Regions from separate parts of the Homo sapiens genome. Here all the other regions are linked to region 2. Evidence: promoter capture Hi-C in 16 types of primary human blood cells and fetal thymus (Javierre and others, 2016). All regions are on one chromosome and are shown on one strand. The core of a region is centred on a gene start or on the middle of the fragment in contact, and the rest is flanking DNA. Distances in the headings are between cores, read along the strand shown.

What was found. The method cuts DNA at HindIII sites, captures the fragments that hold promoters and counts their contacts. A CHiCAGO score of 5 or more calls a contact.
Region 1: a contact is called between the fragment with the promoter of DECR1 here and the fragment with the promoter of CFAP418-AS1 in region 2, in 1 of 17 cell types (M0 macrophages). The highest score is 7.1, in M0 macrophages.
Region 3: the fragment with the promoter of ZNF706 here is called in contact with the fragment with the promoter of CFAP418-AS1 in region 2 in 1 of 17 cell types (neutrophils); the score reaches 7.8 in neutrophils.

The regions. Positions count from the first base shown.
Region 1 is chr8:89,999,973-90,002,897 of GRCh38, forward strand. It overlaps DECR1 (2,4-dienoyl-CoA reductase 1), which reads left to right and starts at 1,505. Exons shown (of 10, transcript NM_001359.2): 1 at 1,505-1,589. The coding sequence starts at 1,521. RefSeq lists enhancers at 849-1,143, 1,992-2,131 and a silencer at 1,422-1,521. The HindIII fragment of the contact is 6,361 bases long and covers 1-2,925 here.
Region 2 is chr8:95,267,307-95,270,133 of GRCh38, forward strand. It overlaps CFAP418-AS1 (CFAP418 antisense RNA 1), which reads left to right and starts at 1,530. Exons shown (of 4, transcript NR_038209.1): 1 at 1,530-1,584. It overlaps CFAP418 (cilia and flagella associated protein 418), which reads right to left and starts at 1,895. Exons shown (of 6, transcript NM_177965.4): 1 at 1,729-1,895. The coding sequence starts at 1,883. It overlaps TRS-AGA2-5 (tRNA-Ser (anticodon AGA) 2-5), which reads right to left and starts at 2,432; the gene lies at 2,351-2,432. RefSeq lists enhancers at 1,487-1,926, 1,881-2,520, 2,557-2,636. The HindIII fragment of the contact is 4,678 bases long and covers 1-2,827 here.
Region 3 is chr8:101,204,322-101,207,146 of GRCh38, forward strand. ZNF706 (zinc finger protein 706) reads right to left here and starts at 1,352. Exons shown (of 4, transcript NM_016096.5): 1 at 1,114-1,352. RefSeq lists silencers at 887-1,486, 1,697-1,916. The HindIII fragment of the contact is 4,829 bases long and covers 1-2,825 here.

The DNA of each region.
Region 1 (2,925 bases), core at 255-2,754, 5.3 Mb before region 2:
AAGAGCTTAGGAAAAGTTTTATTATTGATATATTCTCAAGGTTTTTTTGGGAGGACAGAAAATGCCTCCTAAGCTGGTCTAAAAGTTATTTAAGAGGGCAAGTGTTCTGGGCTGAATTGTGTACTTCCCTCTTCTCCCAGCCAAATATATACATTGAACTCTTAACCCCCAGTATGTCAGAATGTGGCTATATTTGGAGATAGAGTCTTTAGGGAGGTAATTCCAGTTAAATTAGGTCATTGAGGGTGGGCCTTAATCCAACACGACTGGTGTCCTCATAAGAAGAGGCAATTTAGATATGGAAAGGTACACAGGAGGATCATGTAAAGACACAGGGAGAAGATGGTCCCACAGTGGCTCCACAAGAAACCAACTCTGCTGACTTGTGGCCTCCAGAATTGTGAGAAAACAAATTTCCATTTAAGCCACCCAATCTGTGGTAGTTTTGTTCCTGGACCAAACTGAGGGTCAGGCTGCTATTTCTTGCTGCCAATAATGAGATGTCGATGAACTGGGGATGAAGAAAGTTTTTATTTCTGTAACCAGTTACAGGCAGAAGGCCTGGAAATTATCACCAGACCAACTCAAAATTACAAAGTTTTTCAGAGTTTATATACCTTATAAGCTATATGTCTACATGTAAGTGTACATTCCTCTGAAGATATAAATGTTTCTTTATCAGCATTTGGAACATGCCAGGCAAATAGTAAACACTCAATATCATCTACCATCAGCCTCAGCCTGGGGCCTCACACCCATCTTCTTTTATCTAAAATTCTGAATTAGCTATGAATATTCTCATTTTACGAATGAGGAAAGAAATGTGATCTGAGCTAATGCCTTGTGTCAACAGGTATATTACACTAAGATGGAGAATGATATACTGAATCTGTGTTTGCCTTTAACGTGTGTTTAACTTCGAGAAAAAAGCCAAGGCTGGGCGGTCGCAGTCACGCTGCATCCGGCGACAGGGGGCGGTGTGTCCTGCGAAAAGTCAAAACGCCGGAAGCTGCCCTTAGTGTTTTTCAGCCTCTTGGTCTTAGGGAAAGTGAGGCCGTGTTTTACATCCAACATATTATTATTCTGATAATATGTGACTTGGCGCCACGCGCACTCTGCACTTAAACACGCACTTAAGGGATAAACACATACGACTGAAAAAGAGTTTCGCCCTTGATAGGCAGTGTATGGGGTGCGCAGCTGCAATCTGCAAACCCTTGCAGGGCGCGGGGTTTCGTACACCCGCTCAAGGACGCAAAGAACCTCCATTCTCTGCCATACAAAGCACTCCTGGCCCAGAGAGCAGGAAAGAGCATCAGCTAGGCCCAGCTAGGCGGCGCCCTCGGCCGGACTCTGAAGGTCAGGGCCGCTGGGCGTCCACGCCGCCTGGGTCCCAGTCCCCGTCCCATCCCCCGGCGGCCTAGGCAGCGTTTCCAGCCCCGAGAACTTTGTTCTTTTTGTCCCGCCCCCTGCGCCCAACCGCCTGCGCCGCCTTCCGGCCCGAGTTCTGGAGACTCAACATGAAGCTACCGGCCAGGGTTTTCTTTACTCTGGGGTCCCGGCTGCCCTGTGGCCTCGCTCCTCGGAGGGTAAGGCGGCCGGGGGCGCGGGGAGCGAGGACAGGGCGTCTCGACGCGCAAAGAGAGAGGACAGGGCGTCACGGGGGCTCGGGGAGCGAGGACAAGGCATCCTGGGGCGCAAAGAGAGAGGACAGGGCGTCCCGGGGGTTCGGGGAGCGAGGACAGGGCATCCCGAGGCGCAGAGAGAGAGAGGACAGGGCGTCCCGGGGCCTCGGGGAGCGAGGACAGGGTGTCCCGGGGCTCAAAGAGAGAGGACAGGGCGTTCTGGAGCGCTAAGAGAGCACAGAGCAACCCGGGGAGCGAGAGAGAGGACAGGACGTCTCGGGGCGCAAGAGAAAGGGCAGGAAGTCTTGGGGCACAAAGAGAGGACCCGGCGTCCCTGGGGCTCAGGGAGCTAGGACAGGGCGTTTTGGGGCGCAGAGAGAGAGGACCACCAGGTCCCGGAGCGAAGGGCAACGCCGGGAGTGAGCACCGGGGCCCGGGTCGTATTCCACTGTCAGATGAAGCCCTGATGTGTGTAGGGGAATAGGGAAGAGACGTGATTTTCGAAGTTTTCACAGTTCTGCAAGTTTCCAACTTGTGTGTAAATAGGTAGAAAGAGGTAGGGAAGGATACGGCGCCCGTCCACCCCTTAAGGAGTGAGAGGGGATCAGGCCGAGCGAGCACTGACCTTTGACGTCCTTTGTTGTGAGGAAAGTCCATCTATGTGTTAGTTATGGAATTAAACACTAATACAAACAAATTATCATAAAAATGAAACAAAAACAAAACCCCAGCTGTTTATAGACTCCCCTTCCCAGATGTATAGCTGGGAGAGGTCCGTCTCACACTGGCTTCCCCCTCTCTCTGGCCCACACTCCTGTCACCATCTCCATTGCACCCATAGTGGAAATAGCTAGGAAGTGAAAACAGCTAGGAAGAAGAAAGAGAAACAAAAACAAAAAGAAGCAATAATATCCAAGACAAGCCCTCCCCACATCTAAATTACAAAATTGTTATAAGTAAACTAAAAAGCACATTTTCTTTAGCCAGGTAGAAAAATTAATATGTCAACTGTGAAAAAACTTCTTTTGATTTGATAGAATAGACAGCCATGGTGTTGTTTTTCAAAAAATATGGGCAGCAGTAGTTCCAAATAGGAATACAAAGAATTAGTATGGTGGTTCCCTCAAGTAAGGTATCTTTCTTTTAAAAAGTGAGATTTGTTCAGGGTTAGGGTTTTGCTGATTTTTTTTCTCTCCCTGTGAAAACTGGGTTATAGATCATTATAAAGGAAGCCCATATTTTCTGATACTTTTCAGAGACATTTCTCATTTGAAATCTACAACAGCTCTGTGATGTCTTC
Region 2 (2,827 bases), core at 280-2,779:
AATAAATGTCACTGACTGGGCACGGTGGCTCATGCCTGTAATCCCAGCACTTTGGGAGGCCGAGGTGGGTGGATCACGAGGTCAGGAGATCGAGACCATCCTGGCTAACACGGTGAAACCCCGTTTCTACCAGAAATACAAAAAATTAGCCAGGCGTGGTGGCGGGCGCCTGTAGTCTCAGCTACTCGGGAGGCTGAGGCAGGGGAATGGGAGGCGGAGCTTGCAGTGAGCTGAGGTGGGCCACTGCACTCCAGCCTGGGCGACAGAGCGAAACTCAAAAATAAATAAATAAGTAAATAAAATAAATAAATATCACTGGAGGTAAGCCAGGTGAACTGGATAGTAACAGAGTTGGATAATACTTTGGGAAATCACACATACACACACCAAAAAACCAAAACCAAACCAAAGATGCAGCAAAAAAATTAACGGAGATGACGTTCTTAGATTGATCCAAAGTTGCCTCCGTGTAATTTCACAAGCGTTTCCAAAATATTCTAGGCAAGAGGCAATTTCCAAAAGATTCTAGCAAGAGTTACTGAAGGTCAATATTCTTATGCAAACATTTTGTTTTTTTTTTTTGAGGGGTTGTGGGGGAAATGAGGAAGTGAAGGAAATCCTATTATTTAATAATTACATGGAGGAAAAACGACTGGTAAATTTGAAAGGTAGTTTTTAGATAAAAAACCAAAATACCTTAAGAAATGTCCTTAAATTTCCATATGTATGTCTGGCACCCTTAACTAGGGGGCCATGGAGAGAAGGAAGGTAGACGGTTTAATGTTCACAATAATTAACCCTTTTGTAATGAATTTAATCTCATCTTAACTCCCTGAGTTAAAAAAATAAAACAAACTGAGTCAGGTGCGATGGCTCGCAACTGTAATCCTAGCAGTTAGGGGAGGCAGAGGCGGGAGGACAGCTTGAACTCAGGAGTTCAAGACCAGCCTGGCCAACACAGTGAGACTGTCTCTACAAAAAATACAAATTAACCGGGCTCGTGCCTGTAATCCCAGTTTACGTAATCCCAGATTACAGGCTCGTGCCTGTAATCCCAGCTAGGGTAGGCCGAGGTGGGAGGATCTTTGAACCCGGGAGTTGGAGGCTGCAGTGAGCTACGATCGTGCCACTGCACTCCAACCTGGGCGACAGAGCGAGACTCCATCTCAAAAAACAAACAAAACAACAAAACTGAGCTAAAGACAAATAGGATTGACCTGGGGAGTGGGGTCTGAGGCAATGGGATGAGGCTGTCTAACAGGGCACCTCACAGGGAGATGAGAACCGCTTGGCCACACAGAGGCAAAATGCGGCCGAGGTCAGCACAGCCCTCTCGGGGTTAAGAACGGGGCGCCTGAGGGGTATCCCGGTCCCCGACTAGAACCTCCTACGCGCTGGCAGCCAGAAACAGGATGAAGGAGACTGGCGCGGACTGCGGGCTCTGCGGGCGGGGCGGGGCGGGGCGGGGCGGGGCGGGGCGGGGCGGGGGCCAGCCCTCTGGGGCATGCCGGGGGGCGGAGTCTGCGCTGAGTGAAGAGGTGCCAGAATCCGCGAAGAGGGTCGACGAATGCGCTGCCGCGGAGGGTAGGGCGCTGAGGGTCTGAACCCTGATGCAAGGAGGGGCTGGAGGTCGCGGGCACGTTTCTTTTGGGTTGGGCGGCGGAGGGGCAGCTCTAGGGCCTGGAGCAGGGCTTTACCAGAACAGTCCACCCCTCCCGCCCGGTTAACCTGAGCGTCTCTTTCGCCTTGGCTTGGTTCCGGTCGCTACTGTGGGTGCCGCCGCCGCAGCCTTTGGGCTGCTCGACCATACCCCGTCTTAGAAGGTCAGGTGTGCAAAACTTGGACTCGACTTCATCCAAGAGCTCGTCCAGGTCCTCCGCCATCTTGAATCGCCTGGCCTTTTCCCCTCCAATCGCCAAGGCTCCGGTGGTTTCCAGGAGTAACGAGGGGACCTGGCGGGCTCCTGCCCCGTTAGGCGTCCCCGCGCATGCGCACCGCTTCCCGTGGCAACCCGGCGCCCACGAGGGCTCGCGGCAGAGAACGCGGTGGGTTCGTGAGGGGCGGGCGTATGCAGGGACAGAGTTCGGAGCTGTCTCTGCAGTGTGTCTGTGTGACTCGCGATGCTTTGCGTTTCTTCCTTTCAGCATGTCTGGCGTGGTTCCTCCCGTCTCCCCCTCCCGGGCCCACGTTGTAACCACAAGCACGCATTCTCGCCCCTTCATTCTCTCCTCTCCCGTTTGGGTCCCTGTTGTGTTTCAGCCGTTTGTAAATTCCTGAAATCTGTGGAAGGTTTGAGCAGAACGCTCTAAAACACAAAAAGTAAGTGTTGACGGCAAAAAGCTGACATTCCCGTAGTCGGCAGGATTCGAACCTGCGCGGGGAGACCCCAATGGATTTCTAGTCCATCGCCTTAACCACTCGGCCACGACTACTGGCTGTGTGAATTTTTGCGGTGAGAGTGCATGTAGACTCTGCATAAGCGTCTGCTGCAGCAATAGGCACGTTTTGATGTGGAGGAAACCATTACTGAGCTGTTCTGTTAAGAGCATATTTGAATGTTACCTCGCTCATCATTTTACAGTTTGTAAAAGTCTTAGAACGTATCCCGTCCAACTCTTTGTTGGAAAAAACGGAAATTCTAATTAAATCCGAGAGAGAGAGAGAGAGAGACAGAGAGAGAGATGCGTGCTCAAAACTATTGCACACCCACTTGCTTGCACAATGTTGGAGCCATTTCCAGGAGAGAACCAGGAACCGGGTAGGGGCCAACCAGCTTCCCGACTTCCTTGTGGGGCTGCCAGTTCCACTCCTTCGCCTTTCTCTTTGA
Region 3 (2,825 bases), core at 102-2,601, 5.9 Mb after region 2:
CAAACAGCAACCAAAAAGACCGAAGAGACTTAATAAAGACAGTAGTCACTTGTTCTTATTCTGAAGACAGAAAACTTAACACCAGGTAAAGGAAATGGAATAAAATAAGCTAAATGCATGAGGTAGGCCCCTAACTTCTGACAACACGCCCCATCGATTTCCTTTCTGAAAGCAGAAATTCAAACGAACCAACCACCTGCTTTTGGACAGCTCAACTTAGGACTTGCTCTCAAGCCAACACAATTTTCTACAAAATCGTAGGCAGCTACAACCGCTCCTTGATTAAATGCGACAAACTGGAGGGAAAAAGTCACTTACAAATACCTACATGCTGGTTTTTAATGCAACTCTCAGTGTGGTTTTCCGAGGGGGCTGCAAAGAGGGAAGTAGTGGAAGAAACGAGTTCTAAAATGAGGCGCTCTCGTAGGAGGCAACAAGTAAGCTCTGCCCCAAAGCTCCTTTTAAAACCAACATAAATGAGTAACAGAAGAAAAGGATTTTGGGTCCAGGAAGTAGGCTCATTCTCCATAACCATCGGAAAGGAAGAGGCCCAGGCAGCGCTCCACATCCTGACCCTAGCTTTTAACACCATCGTTTTGGGGAGAGGAGAGGAGGAACGCACCCACAGTGAGGTCTCCACCCAACACTTCTCCGACCCCAGCTTCAGCCTGGCGCACCTTCCTTCCCAAACCCGCCTCTCCCGCCTCGGAGACCCCCTCCTCCTCCCTGCCACCAAAGGCCACGCAGCCCCCATCTAGCCAGTCCTCACGGACCCTGGACCAAGACGCGCCTCCTGGAGGCCGAGACTGCCCGAAACCCGGCCCCTGCGTCCACCGGGAGCGCCACACTCTGGCAGCTGACCGGCGGCTGTCGCCGGGGGTAAGGTTACCGCTCCGCTTCCGCGGCTGGCCTGCGACCCGGCCACCTGCAGGGCCTGGCAGGCGCCCGAACTCATCCCCTTCCCGCGGCCCGCCCCGGGCCGGGCCCTGCCGCCCCCCGCGACCCCTCGCGACCCGCGGCGAGTCCCACGGTCCCCACCGCCCCCCGCTGGCCGGCCCCCGCCCCGTTTCCCGGGCGTCCCGCGGCGTCAGCACCGCCCCCGCTGCCGCTCACCCGGGCCGGGACAGTCTTGCGTCGGAGAGACAGTGCAGCGCGAGAGGGCCGGGAGAGGACGCCGGAGGGAAAGGAAGGGGGAGCGCGCCCAGCACCGCTTGGGCCTCCTCCACCCGCTCAGGAGGGGAAACACGAGAGCCGGGAGCACAACAGCCTCGCACGCCCGCCGCCGCCGCGCGCCCGCCGCCGCCTCAGCCTTAGGGGAGACCACTACGCCTCGTGCCCGCGCACGCCGCGCCGCTCTCCTCGGCGCCCCCGCCCCGCCTGCTCCTCGCAGCCCCGCCCATGTGCCTTTCTGCGGCTGCCTCCTTCTGGCCCCCACCCCGCTCGCACGCCTGCGCCCTGGCTGGTCGCGCGGGCCAATGGCAGCGCGCCCCTATTACATAAGCGCGAGGGGGCGGGCCCTGGCTGACACAAACTTCAGGGGACGTCGCCTTCTGTCCCCAGGCGCCCCTCCTCTCCGGCGCGCTCGGTCCGGGCGGCTTCTTCACCCAGCCCTGGGAGCCACGTGATCCCGGTCCTGGTTGGTGACCGGGCCGCGGCGTGTTTCACAAGTCGCTCGCTCGCTCATCCACTCGGGCGGCGGCCGGGCCTCAGGCGCTGCGACCCTTTTCCCGCTCCTCCCAGGCTGACGCGCCCGTCTCGGCGCCGCCCTCCTCGGCACCGACTGAGGCGCTGGCCCGGGAGCGGATCGCGGGGCCGCGGTGGCTGAGTCACATTCCCGGAGCCCCGCCACCCAGGACACCGCGGCCCCGGCCCCCAGCGAGCCCGGCGGACCCAGCGGCTCTGAACGCGGACGCACAGCCTTTGTTCTTTCACAGCCGCCCTTTACCTCACTCCCATGGAAACCCCAGGTGTTTTCCCAAGCTGGGGGCTTTTAGTGAGTTCAAGATTCAAGCCTAAGTCGTATTAAAAATTGCTGGCTAGGCCGGGCGCGGTGGCTCACGCCTGTAATCTCAGCGCTTTGGGAGCCCAAGGCAGGAGGATCACTTGAGCCCAGGAGTTCCAGACCAGCCTGAGTACATAGCGAGACCCACGTCTCCACAAAAATAAAATAAAATAAAATAAATAGTGGAGCATGGTGGCCCGCGCCTGTAGTCCCAGCTACTCGGGAGGCTGAGGTGGGAGAATCGCTTGAGGCCGGGAGGTGAAGGTTGCGGTAAGCCGAGATCGCGCCATTGCACTCCATCCTGGGCGACTGAGTGAGACCCTGCCTAAAAAAAAAAAAAAACAAAAAAAGAAAAAAAAATTGCTGGCCAGGCTTCCCGGAGGGGTTTAGTTTGACTGCTAACAATATACGGTACTGAGTTGCTAATCCTTCGGGGAATGGTTAAAGTTCTTTGCGCGCGCTCTCTCTCCATTTACAGGCAGTGGCAGCAAACTTTCAATATCTGACAAGAGCAATGGCGATTATAACCATGATTAAAATTGCTGAATATCTGGAAACAGTACTTTAGACATCAGCTTTATTGTGCATACTTACCCCCGACCCCCGCCACATTCGTTTCTAATTAGAACTACTAGTGACAAAGGAGAAAAAAAAAAAGTGTTTGCATTGGCTGTTCTCACCTTGCCTGTAGTGCCGTTTCCCAAGTTTGCGTGGCAGTGCCCAGGAAATGTTGGCTGAATATTAGTATATCCCAAATGACTTGGACTGGGCTATAGATACCACAGAATTGTTTAAACTAGCCAGGAAGGAGTTAGCTGCCTAT